Linked DNA regions of Homo sapiens: region 2 is linked to region 1. Evidence: promoter capture Hi-C in 16 types of primary human blood cells and fetal thymus (Javierre and others, 2016). All regions are on one chromosome and are shown on one strand. Each heading gives the region's core, a stretch centred on a gene start or on the middle of the fragment in contact. The rest is flanking DNA. Distances are from core to core; before and after follow the strand shown.

What was found. Contacts are between HindIII fragments. The CHiCAGO score rates a contact against its expected background, and 5 or more counts as called.
Region 2: a fragment that was not itself captured here is called in contact with the fragment with the promoter of BOD1L1 in region 1 in 5 of 17 cell types (non-activated CD4 T cells, naive CD8 T cells, total CD4 T cells and 2 more); the score reaches 8.0 in non-activated CD4 T cells.

Annotation. Positions count from the first base shown.
Region 1 is chr4:13,623,763-13,630,814 of GRCh38, forward strand. It overlaps BOD1L1 (biorientation of chromosomes in cell division 1 like 1), which reads right to left and starts at 3,963. Exons shown (of 26, transcript NM_148894.3): 1 at 3,583-3,963. The coding sequence starts at 3,825. MIR5091 (microRNA 5091) reads left to right here and starts at 4,103; the gene lies at 4,103-4,195. RefSeq lists enhancers at 3,392-4,122, 3,960-4,119, 4,123-4,853 and a silencer at 3,620-3,819. The HindIII fragment of the contact is 7,220 bases long and covers 2,213-7,052 here.
Region 2 is chr4:15,626,078-15,632,996 of GRCh38, forward strand. FBXL5 (F-box and leucine rich repeat protein 5) reads right to left here. Exons shown (of 11, transcript NM_012161.4): 6 at 4,589-4,714; 7 at 1,808-1,956; 8 at 796-878. Among named protein-coding and RNA genes, the nearest start is that of FBXL5, 26 kb to the right of the region's middle. The HindIII fragment of the contact is 2,216 bases long and covers 2,366-4,581 here.

The DNA.
Region 1 (7,052 bases), core at 2,713-5,212:
AGGTATCAAATGTCTTCATTCTTAAATATGCATGTGACAGACATAATCCACTATAACTCTATATGCTACAAGTTAAGACTTTTTGACAGAAAGCAGGTCAGTCTTTGAGGTTCAAGTGGCAGATGAAACTCAAGGATTCCATTAAAGTGATGGTTCTTTGCATGAACAGGGAATCTTCTACTTTGGCCCACTCATCATATTGATATGAATGTTATGTTCTGATGAAGAAAACTTTGGCTTTTTGGGAAGCAGGGGGGAATATATTTTTTTTTTTTTCAAATAAGAAAATGAAGTATAAAATGGTATTCAATGAGAACAAATCTTTTAAATCAAATTAAAATCTACCTAATTGCTAACTAAGGGAGTAGAAGAGAAGGAGAGAGTCATGGGGTAAAGGAAGTACCAGAACATAACCTGTAACATAACCAGGAGCAGGTACAGAGGTTAGTGGCAGGGAGGGGGAGAGAGAGAGAGATTTTGTGGGAGAGTTTAAGCTAGCGTCTGAGCACCAGAACTTCAACCATAGCTGAGTGTTCTTTTTTGTCTGGGAGGGTGTCATTTCAGTTCTAATTTCTCAAAGCAACAGAAATATTAGAAATTTTCATAATTATTAAATAGTATATGCAACTGTATTGAAAAATGTGTATTGTTGCTTTTTAAAAATTTTTGTTTTTTAGACCAAGTCTTGTTCTGTCTCCCAGGCTGGAGTGCACTGGCACAATCTCGGCTAACTGCAACCTCTGTCTCCTGGCTTCAAGCAATTCTCCTGCCTCAGCCTCCCGAGTAGCTGGGACTACAGGCATGTGCCACCATACATGGCTACTTTTTTTGTATTTTTACTAGAGATGGGGTTTCACCATTTTGGTCAGGTTGGCCTCGAACTCCTGACCTCTAATGATCCACCCACCTCGGCCTCCCAGAAGACCAGGGTTCTGTGGTCTTCTGGTGTAGCAGCAGACTTTGGTACTTCTCATCCTGGTTTAAACACACTAAACTGGATGACAGTTTTGCTCTTAGCACCTGGCAGGTATCAAATGTCTTCATTCTTAAATATGCACGTGACAGACATAATCCACTATAACTCTATATGCTACAAGTTAAGACTTTTTGACAGAAAGCAGGTCAGTCTTTGAGGTTCAAGTGGCAGATGAAACTCAAGGATTCCATTAAAGTGATGGTTCTTTGCATGAACAGGGAATCTTCTACTTTGGCCCACGGTGGCCAGGCATGAGCCACCGGGCCTGGCCATACTGTTGCTTTTTAAAGTTCCTGCATCTGTGGCTGAATATGTCTTATTACTAGAAGAAGGGTTGATCATCAATTCTATTCCTATTTCTAATTTTTATAGTCATGCGCCCTGAGAAACCTTGTTCATATAAACAAGTACTGTGCCTCGGAATGGAAGAGTTTTGTTGTAACAATATCATTCAATTCTTGACCTCAAAAAAGAGGCTAAGAACATTAAAATAGGTTCTTATTCCATGGTTCCTGAACTCACTGAAACTGTATATGTTATTAGATTGATTCTCATGAAATTGCCTATAGTTGACCATTCTGAAGTAGAAAAACAGCGTTTTAATGTGTTACTTGCGCATTTTTCTTGAGAGAAGGTCCTAACTTTCATTAGATGATCAGAGATACTGTGCTTCCCTCCTTCCCTCCAAAAAAGGTTTTAATCCTTTACTTTGAAGGGTCTGGCAGGGATATTATAGACACATACCAATAACATTTTGTGGGAATAGGATAATAAAAAAGTTGAGCCTCAGACATTGCAGCAGTACATTACAATTTTTAATTTGTATACATAATGATTCATGGGTTTCTGAGAACACACAGATTCATGGGTTTCTGAGAACAGCAAAGTAAAAATTCCACTTGTTGAATACGAATAACTAACTTTATTTGATAACATTTACCTGGCCATGTCTAACCTTTTCCCATTAAATAACAACAAAAATAATAAAGGCAATAGAAATTATTTCTAAAAGGTAGCAGTGCATATTCCTGAAGACAAAAGTAAAAAAAACTATACTTCCTAAATAGATGAACACTCCCAAGTGAATTGAATTCTCTGTGGTGCAAAACCTCCAATATCCCGAAAAACCACGTTTTACATAGTGGGCCCAGTATGAGTCCTTATAAAGGAAGATGTACCAGGATATTCAAGAGTTTCCCCAGAAGACATAGTGGAACTGTGTGCAGTTCACCTGAAAGCTTTAGAAGAAACTGTGGATGTTGTAAACATGCATTTCTCAAAGATACAAAGCTCCTCAGAACAACTAAACATACTATGAGAAAACCCTCGACCGGGCGCGGTGGCTCATGCCTACTGGGCGAATCACGAGGTCAGGAGATCGAGACCATCCTGGCCAACACGGTGAAACCTTGTGTCTACTAAAAATACAAAAATTAGCAGGGCGTGGTGGCACGCGCTTGTAATCCCAGCTACTTGGGAGGCTGAGACAGGAGAGTCGCTTGAACCCGGGAGGCGGAGGTTGCAGTGAGCCGAGATCACGCCATTGCATTCCAGCCTGGCGACAGGGCGAGACTCTGTCTCAAAAAAAAAAAAAAAAAAAAAAAAGGAAACCCTCATTTCATCAAAACTCCAATCCAATGGACCCAACCAGATTTAACAAGCAGACAAAAACAACCCCTACAAACCAGTTAATTTTCCAACATGCTTTCTGCTTCCAGAATTCTAGACTGTACTGTGGTTTTCCATCCATCTCACTGACTGCTCTTTCCTGGTGTCTTTGGCTAATTCTTTGCCAATCCAGCTAAGTTTACTTGTTCCTGCTAATGTCCCTTTCACTCTGACATTTGGTACAAAATCCCTTCCCCTTTCCAGCCTCTCTTTCTGGACAGGGAACCTTGTTGCTGTCCTTTCCCTTCTCTACATTACTCTCCTGAATCTGCTCTCTTTCCTGTCCTTTCTCCACTTCAGTATCTGCTGTCACCTCTCCTGCATCTTTTCTCCACTGAATGACTCGGTTCTCTCTACCCCACCTTCCTGTCCCTTCTTACCTTAGAATGGTGACATGGCCTAAGTTACCTAAATCAGGCAATCACTGCTAGAAACAATACTAAAGTCCTGTCTCAGGTTTGCCTCCTTATCTTTGCGCTCCCACCCCCACGATGTCCAGCAAAGCATATTACACATAACTTGATTCAATTACCATTTAGTCATTTCTCCAAAGGATAAAGGCCCTTACCGCCCAGAAACCTTCAAGAAAGAAGGCAAACATAACTTCGATACAAAGTAAAATCATCAGATATGAGAATGAATACAAAACTGGCTACTGTTAGCGCCACTGTTTCCAAACCAGTTCCTGTAAGAACAATGCCTTAGTCTTGCTCATCAGACCGGGGTAATCACTGTGCCGAAACCATGACTGGCACGTAGTAGGTACTTAAACACTAGTCGGTAAAACGAACCAAAGGACACGCTAAGGAATGAACACTCTGTGCTTTGCACAGTCCGTGGCACACAGCTGCAGCTCCAAGAGGAAGCCACTGCAAAAGAAGCGCGCCCTTGGGTCCTCCCCTTCCCTCGCAGACCCCCAAACCCGGCGCGCTCCTAACCTTGGTGTCCACGTCGGCCAGGCAGTCTCTGCGGAACTGGTCGAAGAGCCCCTGGCTCTTGAGGTGGTTCACGATCATGGCCACGAGCTGCGGGTCCCCGGCGCCCGCACCCGCGCCGCCCGCCCCGCCCGCGCCGGGGCCAGCCCCGGGGCCCGGCGGCGGCGGCGGTGGCTGCGGCTGCGGCTGCGGCGGGGGAGGCGGCGGCGCCGGAGGAGGCGGCTGCGGCTGTGGGTTGGTGGCCATGGTGGCCTGTGCCGGGGAGGGCAAGGGCCCTGACCGGCGGACGATCCTGGGAGGCGGCGGCTGCACTGGTCCCGCCGCCTGAGGGAAGCCAACGGGATGTTGTTACGGAACCAGCGGATCCAGAGCAACCCCGGAAGTGAAAGGGAACTGGGGGAAAGGAGGAAAAGACGGTGACAACATTGACGAAAGTCCGGCGACGGAGGCCGCGAAGAGCCAGTTTCGACCGTCGCCGGGCGCAAGCGCCCTCGCGAGGCCGAGCTGCGCCGGAAGTGGCGGCGACTGTGGCGACGGAGACGACAAGACTGTGCTGGTCGCGGGTTGTGGGGTTTAGGTCACCGGCAGGGGTCTGGAGTCCCTGGAGGTTAGGGCTTCGACCCGCGCGACACCTGGGGCCCTAGGTCTGAGCGGGGGCAGTGCGTTTCTGGCCCCGCTTCATCCGCGACGGCATTTTAGGCCTGCCTCTCTTGCTCCAGTTTCCCGGAGCAGTGCATAGAGATCCATAGACATTTGTAATGCGAACCCTACGTGGATCTGCTCATTCTAACTTCGCCCAACCCTCTTCGTTCTTAGCCTGTGATCCTGCACTATTCTTGTCCCAGCAGGTAGCTCCAAGTTCCTTCTGTCTCTCTTCTGCCTGCACATACCATTTCCCCGTGGGGGTCCCTTGTTTCTGGCAGTGTGCCTGTGGATTAGATCCGATCCCTCCAGCCCGTTCTTCCTATCTGTGAAGACAAATCGACAGGCTTTTATTTTTAGGAGATTTGCTATTGATTACTATGATTATAGCAGGTAAAACATCTATAGCACATATTATGTACCAAGCGTGGCGTTAAGTGCTTTTACATGTATTAACGCATTTAATCTTTGGACAAACACTAAGAGCTAGGTCTGATTACTGTCCCCAGTTTGCAAATCAGGGAACCAAGGCTCAGATAAATTAAGTATGTTGAGTAAGATTACACAGCTAGCAAATCACCTGCTTTTGGACTGCATCATCTTTGAAATTATTATTAGTACGTGGTCAAAGCAACATAAATATTAGAAAATTTCATAATTACTAAATAGTGTGTGTAACTTTATTGAAAAATGCATATTGTTGCTTTTTAAAGTTCCTACATCTGTGGCTGAATATATCTTATTAGTAGGAAAAGAAGGGTTGAGCATCAATTCTATTCCTATTTGTAATTTTTATAGCTGTGTGCCCTGAGAAACCTTGTTCATATAAACAAGTACTGTGCCTAGGAATGGAAGAGTTTTGTTGTAGCAATATCATTCAATTCTTGACCTCAAAAAATTAGATTTGATTATCTATGAGCTGACTTCAATTAGGCCCTCCTTCTATTTTATGGAAAGCAAAGAGCTGAAAACCACCTGGCTTGCCAAAGGATTTGTTTACTTAATCCTTATTTTTTCACTCTTTCAGATTCTGGGAAATATACCAGATAGGTTTTACCAAGATACCAAATGACTATGAATTAGACCTGATTTTTTCAATGAGGTGTACCTTTCACCTGATATACTGAAAGTTTGGAGAATATCTAAACATTTTTCATTTTCATAAATAGTTTTGGATAAGATTTATTTTTGTTATCAGGTGGTTAAATTATGTTTTTGTCAAAATTTGCAACTGCAGATTTAGCTCATTCAAGTTCAAAATCTTTGTCACTGGGCACAGTGTCTCACGCCTGTAATCCTAGCACTTTGGGAGGCTGAGGCGGGAGGATCGGTTGAGTCCAGAGTTCAAGACCAGCCTGGGCAACATGGCAAGACCCCACCTCTACAAAAAAATAAAAGAAATTAGGCGGTGTAGTGGCGTGCACCTGTAGTCCTACCTACTTGGGAGGATTAGGTGGGAGGATCACCCGAGCCCAAGAAGTCAAGTCTGCAGTGAGCCATGATGGGGCCAGTACACTCCAGGTTGAGCAACAGAGTGAGACCCTTCTCAAAAACAAGAAAAAAAAAGGTTTGTTAAGAATGTTAAATGTTTACCTTATAACCTAATTAACAGAGCCCATTTTCATTGTCAAACTAGACAAATCAGATTTACTTTAAATCAGAAACAATTTGACTTCATTGTTTCAATTCAGAGTATCCTGTGTGTTTTGAGGAGTTTGATGAAGATAGCAGAGAGGAGAAAGTCATGGATATGAATCTTAAAAGATTAATTACTATATGCAGTCAAGGCTGGGCGTGGCAGCAAACCCCTGTAATCCTAGAGCTTTGTGAGGCTGGGGCAGGTGGGTGGCTTGAAGCCACAAGTTCAAGACCAGTAACAAAACAAAACAAAAAAGTAACCAGGTGTGATGTTGCAGACCTTGAGAAACTGAGGTGGGAGGATTGCTTGAGCCCAGGAGGTTAAGACTGCAATAAGCTATGGTGGTGCCACTTCATTCCAGCCTTGGTGACAGAGTGACACCCTGTCTCAAAAAAAAAAAAAAAAAAAAAAGCAGTCAAGATTACAAGACTAAAATAGCGTAAAATATAAATGTTTTATTCATTTTAAAAATTAGTTATGAGCCGGGCGCGGTGGCTCACGCCTGTAATCCCAGCACTTTGGGAGGCCGACATGGGCGGATCATGAGGTCAGGAGATCGAGACCATCCTGGTTAATACGGTGAAACCCCGTCTCTACTAAAAATACAAAAAATTAGCCAGGCGTGGTGGTGGGCGCCTGTAGTCCCAGCTACTTGGGAGGCTGAGGCAGGAGAATGGCAGGAACCCGGGAGGCGGAGCTTGCAGTGAGCCGAGATCGCACCGCTGCACTGTAGCCTGGGCGACAGAGTGAGACTCTGGGTCTCAAAAAAAAAATAAAAAAAAATAAAAATTAGTTATGAAAAGGTGAGACTATAACATTTACTTAATTACCAACAATACAATATAATATATGTTGCTATATTCTAAGTTTATAAGTTTTTAAGTGTGTGGTATGATAAAAAGACATGGTATTTCTTTGGTATATTTGGATGTGTGAATCAAATTTATTCAGCTTTTTGGGAATAACTAAGTAGAAATCATCCATAAAAGTTCTGAAAAACTTTACAAATTTAATTAGGCATAATGTCCAAGTTTAAAAAAGTAATGAGACAATAAAGTATTTACTGCTAAAAATGAATTGGGTCAGTGGCTAATAAATAATTTGTTTTGTGAACAGTATATAGAAAATCTTAAATATTTTCTACAATGCAAGAAGATGAGAACTTTATAATGGTTCACAATCCATTTTCTCA
Region 2 (6,919 bases), core at 2,224-4,723, 2.0 Mb after region 1:
TAATATAATCACTTAAGTATTTAGTGAATTATCTATTGTTAAGGTACTATTCTTGATGCTAGGGATACAAAAACTCAATGAGAGTAATAAGGAAGTCAAAGTATTCCTAACCTAACAGAAGGGTAGGATTTGAGAGGCGTAAGGATTGGAAGACTTAAGTTTATTATCCTAAAAGTAGTCAGCAGAAGTAAGGCTGCAAACACATGAAAGAAAGAGAATAACCGACGGTTAATGAGGAAGATCCATAAGAAACAAGCTCTAGGAAGATGGAGCATTAGCTTTAGCCCGAGAAGAGTATACCTCTTCCTCTGCAGCAGGAAAAAAGGTGCTGATATAAATAGTTGGGTGGGAAAGAGGGAGTGAGCAATAATACAGAGAATTGGTGGTCAAGGAGATATACTCTGGGAAGAAGGTGGCTTGAAGAAAGTTACACTATACTATTTCAGAGTAACTGTGAAGAATCTAAGAGGGAGCTTTGCCAAATGGCACTTAGAGCCCAACTAAAACTAAAACTTCTTAAAAACATATAATACCAATCTACATGGTTGCACAGCAGGGCTCAAGGGCCTAGACAAAATATAGGACTACAGAGATTGCAAGATAATACAGATGGGATTTTTGGATCAGCTGGGACCTATGAGTAAGAAGTGAAGAACTGGAGGGTGCTATCAAATTATACTCAGACATGACTGAGATTTGATAGTAAAAAATAATAGTATGATTAAACTGCAATTACATAAATGAAACCTTATAAAATAGTTTTTCATTATATTTAAATTGTTTAAAATAACTAACCTGTCAAATGCAGAATCTGAAATGTCAGTCTGGGTAAGATCCAGATGCTCCAGGTTAGGACAAAGCTCTAAAATCTGCCTAACCTAAAAGGCAAGAAATTGTCACTGTAAAGATCTGCAGAACTTCAGTTAGCTAAGTAACAGATGACTATTAGTAAACATAATCTAGTTCACAAACTTTTGTGAATATAAAAAAAAATCACTTGAATACTTGAAAAAAGTATAATAAAATATTCTGGGCTCAAATCCCTGAGAATCTCTTTTTTTTTTTTTTTTTTTTTGAGACAGAGTCTCGCTCTGTCACCCAGGCTGGAGGGCAGTGGCAGTATCTTGGCTCACTGCAACCTCCGCCTTCCGGGTTCAAGCGATTCTTCTGCCTCAGCCTCCTGAGTAGCTGAGACTACAGGCACACGCCACTACATCTGGCTAATTTTTGCATTTTTAGTAGAGATGGGGTTTCACCATATTGGCCAGGCTGGTCTTGAACTCCTGACCTCATGATCCACCCACCTCGGTCTCCCAAAGTGCTGGGATTACAGGCATGAGCCACCGCACCCGCCCAAGTATCTGTTTTAGCAGTTATGAGACTAAACCAGGATTTTTACATTTTTAAGGAACACTCAAGATTCTGATGTAGGAAGTCGTAATATCCACTTTTATAAAACAGTGATTTCATCTCATTTGCCCATCTTACCATGCCTTACATATTATTTAAAAAATCACATAAAACTGGGCTTTATCACTTAACATCTGTGAAACTGAATAAAATGTTTAACCTCTTCTAGTCAGTTTCCTCATCTGTAACATATAGGTAATGATAATTATGCTACAAAGATTGTTGTGAGAACTGCAATGAAATAATAAGTAACCTAGCAGTGTATGCCTACCCATAGGAAGGCACTCAATAATCATTTTTGGGTTTGTTTCCCCTTAATTAAACTCAGGAATGAGCAAACCAAACTCTTATCATGCTGTTTTTCTTAATACCCAAACTAGTGTTAATTTAAACATACCATTTTGCTGGAAACTGCAGAGCTGTATGCTAATACTAAGGTTTTTACAGAAGTACCAACATATGGTAGAACGTTATGAATTAAGCCATGGAGTAAACGTTTTTCCATTTGTGCAATGCTGATAGCAATTGATTCCTCCGCAGACTCTTCTGTAAAATGAATTCAAAAGTCCAAGAACTTGATAAACTGATAATAATTAAGCTACTCAAGCGCTCACCAAATTGTTAAATATGACATACTTTGTGCTATCCTTATACTTTCTTATGTAAACCATCCCATTTTTAGGCAATGAAAAGGTTTTGGAAAAAAATGTGAAAACTGAAAAGAACAGCAAAAGTTTTCAAGAGAAAAGAAAATATGATATCAAAAGAAAAATGATCCATAGTAAAACGTACTATCACTGATTCCACATAACTAAAAAGGGCACAAAGCTAGAAAAGATTTGAAACTCAACTAAATTAGCCTGATCATAATGAATCAAGCAAAGGAAGGTACTTTAGAATTTCTAAGAAGCTAAAAATGAGCATGGCTTTTGGTTTTACTTAATAACTTCTGTAAAGCTTGGATGTTTACAACAGAATGTACTACTGTAACATCCACCATGAAAACACCATAAACTCCAATTCGAAAAAAGGAAAAAACACACTACACTAAAAAGAATGAATAATTGTATTGTATTACCTTTCTCAGGATCCTATTGTTATTATTCTTACCTAAAGACCAATTTGAATGTCTTTAAACATAAAATGATTTAACAGAATAAGTTAAGGAAGTCTCATTTAAAACAAAACTAAGTATAGCAGACAAAAGGATATCAACTAAAAGAATTTGTTACTCATGGTTCCTTGTTTAGATATTATCCTAAATTCCTCCTTTAGCCAGACACAGACACACACACACACACGCACACACACACACACGAAGATAAAATATAAGGAGATAAAAATTACTTTAGTGAGCCCTACTATAATTTTATTCCCAAACCATTCTTTTGTTTCTGTGGCCCTCACTATCTAAATGTATACTATTTACTGTGAAAATTTTAAATTTTTAATTTTTTATTGATATACAATAATTATGCATATTTTGGGGGTACATGTGATACTATGGAACCTGTATACAATGTGTGATGATTAAATCAAGGTAACTGGAACTGTGAAATCTTTAAGAAAGTTAAACATTCTATGAAAAACAATAACTTCTTAGGACAAGTAAAAAGACAAGGCAGCCAAACCGAAAAAAGCACTGAAGTAAATGACAGTTTAGTCTTTAATAATCAACAGATATATTATCTAAAAAGGCTCAATCTTTACAGCGTTAACTTTTCCTTTTCAATATGAAGGAAATTGAGTCTTTCCTCTGGCTATCTTCAAGTATGGAGACAAATACACTGAATTTGTGAGAACCTTCAACATTCTTACCACGGGTATTATGAATTAATTTTCTAGAATGAATAAACTGAGACTTCCTTAAGTTGACATCTGAGCAAATATCTCATCTCCTTCAGGTCTTTACTCAAATTTCCCAAAGGACCTTAACTAATCGCTCAATTTAAAACTGCAATTTTAAATTCTTCTTGGCATGTTTTCCTTGTCTTATTTTTCTCTACAACACTTGTCACCATCTAATATGGAATATATTTTACCTGTATTTATTGTTTGCCTCCTGTCTCTAAATTTTAAGCTCAACAAGCGCCAGTTTTGTTTTGCTTTTTTCCATTTTGTTCACCATTAGATCCTTCATACCTAAAACAATGCCTGCCACAGGTAAGCACATCACCAAATCTATCAAACTAGAATAGACCTTTTCCTTATATAGGACATTTTGAATCTTTACATCAAAATGTGGCACATCTGCGTTTCATAAAAATAAACTACTTTAGCTGCTGATACAACAATCTTTATACTTACACTGTTACTTTCCACGTGTCTTTTTTCCACATTTAATTCTTTCGCCAGACCAAATTACTTTAAGCAAGTAACTTTATAAATAAAATTTCCTATAGTTTCAGTTTTACCAACTAGAAGAATGTCTCATCTGTTCATTTTTTACTATTTTACCATCTTTTAATAATTATTATCTAGAATATCCAAGACAGAATTTGTTTTCCTCCTCACACTTCCAAATAGCATCTCTCTGCACAAGTATGACAGCATTTTTCCATCATATACTTTAAATTAAAAATTATGTTTTCTAAATTCTCTCTCATTTGTGAGTTGTTTGGAGTAGCGATGAAGTCTTATCCATCCTTGAACTCTCCCACAGTGTTTAATGAATGGCTACATTAGTTTTTGTAATCCCTTACCATTTACAAACAATATTTATGTATATTACTTCTTAATTCTACAATAACCTTATTAGGCAAGTATTAAGACTATCTACAAACGAGTAAGTCGACTCAACAGTTTCATCCTATTTCCCTCAAGCCATAGATGACTCAATAGATGCTGTGCAACTGATCACTTGAAGTGGTGCTAAAATCACATTGTAAACTACAAAGCACTATAATAAACGTACATTATTTTCATAAGAAAAAAGGTACCATTTTCTGATTTTTGATTTTAATATAAAAACGAGAAATAATCCTATGCACTCTTTAAAGTACTTCAATTAATTTAAAATTTCATTATTATTCCTTCAAATTTTAAAAAGTAGTAGGCTTAGAAACACCAGTTTCTTTAGAAAACACAAAATACATAAATCTAATACCTAATAATTATAAGTACTTAATTATCAATTATTAAAACACTATGTAATAATTTTAATTCCAAACAAGCTTACCAGATTCATCAATGTCAGCATCTTCATCCCACTCATGAAAAGCACGACTTTCATCTTTCCTATTTTTCACCCATTCATCATCAGGTTCAGTATCAAGTTCAGTTGCGGGACCACTATACCAGTCACCTACTCAATGAATAAACAAGTAAAAGGTTCAAAATAATATCAGATTGCCTGCAATTATGAAAAACTAAGCTATTTACGATAAAAATCTCTACAAAGAGAAAACATCTGAGCCCTAGGCAATAAGCAACTGTTTTTTTTTAATACTTTTAAGTTCTACGGTACATGTGCACAACGTGCAAGTTTGTTACATAGGTATATATGTGCCATGTTGGTTTGCTGCACCCATCAACTCATCATTTACATCAGGTATTTCTCCTAATGCTATCCCTCCCCCAGTCCCCTACCCCCACCACAGGACCTAGTGTGTGACGTTCCCCACCCTGTGTCCAAGTGTTCTCTTTGTTCAATTCCCAACTATGAGTGAGAACATGCGGTATTTGGTTTTCTGTCCTTGTGACAGTTTGCTAAGACTGATGGTTTCCAGCTTCATCCATGTCCCTGCAAAGGACATGAACTCATCATTTTTTATGGCTGCATAGTATTACATGGTGTATATGTGCCACATTTTCTTAATCCAGTCTATCATTGATGGACATTTGGGTTGGTTCCAAGTCTTTGCTATTGTGAATAGTGCCACAATAAACGTATGTGCGCATGTGTCTTTATAGTAGCATAATTTATAATCCTTTGGGTATATACCCAGTAATGGGATGGCTGGGTCAAATGGTATTTCTAGTTCTAGATCCTTAAGGAATCGCCACACTGTCTTCCACAATGGCTGAACTAATTTACACTCCCACCAACAGTGTAAAAGTGTTCCTATTTCTCCACATCCTCTCCAGCATCTGTTGTTTCCTGACTTTTTAATGATCGCCATTCTAACTGGTGTGAGATGGTATCTCATTGTGGTTTTAATTTGCATTTCTCTGATGACCAGTGATGATGAGCATTTTTTCATGTGTCTGTTGGCTGCATAAACGTCTTCCTTTGAGAACTGTCTGTTCATATCCTTCACCCAGTTTTTGATGGGGTTGTTTTTTTTTCTTGTACATTTGTTTAAGTTCTTTGTAGATTCTGGATATTAGCCCTTTGTCAGATGGGTAGGTGGCAAAAATTTTCTCTCATTCTGTAGGTTGCCTGTTCACCCTGATGGTAGTTTCTTTTGCCATGCAGAAGCCTTTAGTTTAATTAGATCCCATTTGTCAATATTGCCTTTTGTTGCCATTGCTTTTGGTGTTTTAGTCACAAAGTCCTTGCCCATGCCTATGTCCTGAATGGTATTGCCTAGGTTTTCTTCTAGGGTTTTTATGGTTTTAGGTCTAACATTTAAATATTTAATCCATCTTGAATTAATTTTTGTATAAGGTGTAAGGAAGGGATCCAGTTTCAGCTATCTACATATGGCTAGCCAGTTTTCCCAGCACCATTTATTACATAGGGAATCCTTTCCCTATTTCTTGTTTTTCTCAGGTTTGTGAAAGAAGATGGTTGTAGATGTGTGGTGTCATTTCTGAGGCCTCTGTTCTGTTCCATTGGTCTATATCTCTGTTTTGGTACCAGTACCATGCTGTTTTGGTTACTGTAGCCTTGTAGTATAGTTTGAGGTCAGGTAGCATGATGCCTCCAGCTTTGTTCTTTTGGCTTAGGATTGTCTTGGCAACGCGGGCTCTTTTTCGGTTCCATGTGAACTTTAACGTAGTTTTTTCCAATTCTGTGAAGAAAGCCATTGGTAGCTTGATGGCAATGGCACTGAATCTACAAATTACCTTGGGCAGTATGGTCATTTTCACGATACTGATTCTTCCTATCCATGAGCATGGAATGTTCTTCCATTTGTTTGTGTCCTCTTTTATTTTGTTGAGCAGTGGTTTGTAGTTCTCCTTGAAGAGGTCCTTCACATCCCTTTAAGTTGTATTCCTAGGTATTTTATTCTCTTTGTAGCAATTGTGAATGGGAGTTCACTCATGATTTGGCTCTCTGTTATTGGTGTATAAGAATGCTTGTGATTTTTGCACATTGATTTTGTATCCTGAGACTTTGCTGAAGTTGCTTATCAGCTTAAGGAGATTTGGGGCTGAGATGATGGGGTTTTCCAAATATACAATCATGTCATCTGCAATCAGAGACAATCTGACTTCCTCTTTTCCTAATTGAATACCCTTTATTTCTTTCTCCTGCCTGATTGCCCTGGCCAGAACTTCCAACACTAAGTTGAATAGGAGTGGTGAGAGAGGGCATCCTTGTCTTGTGTCAGTTTTCAAAGGG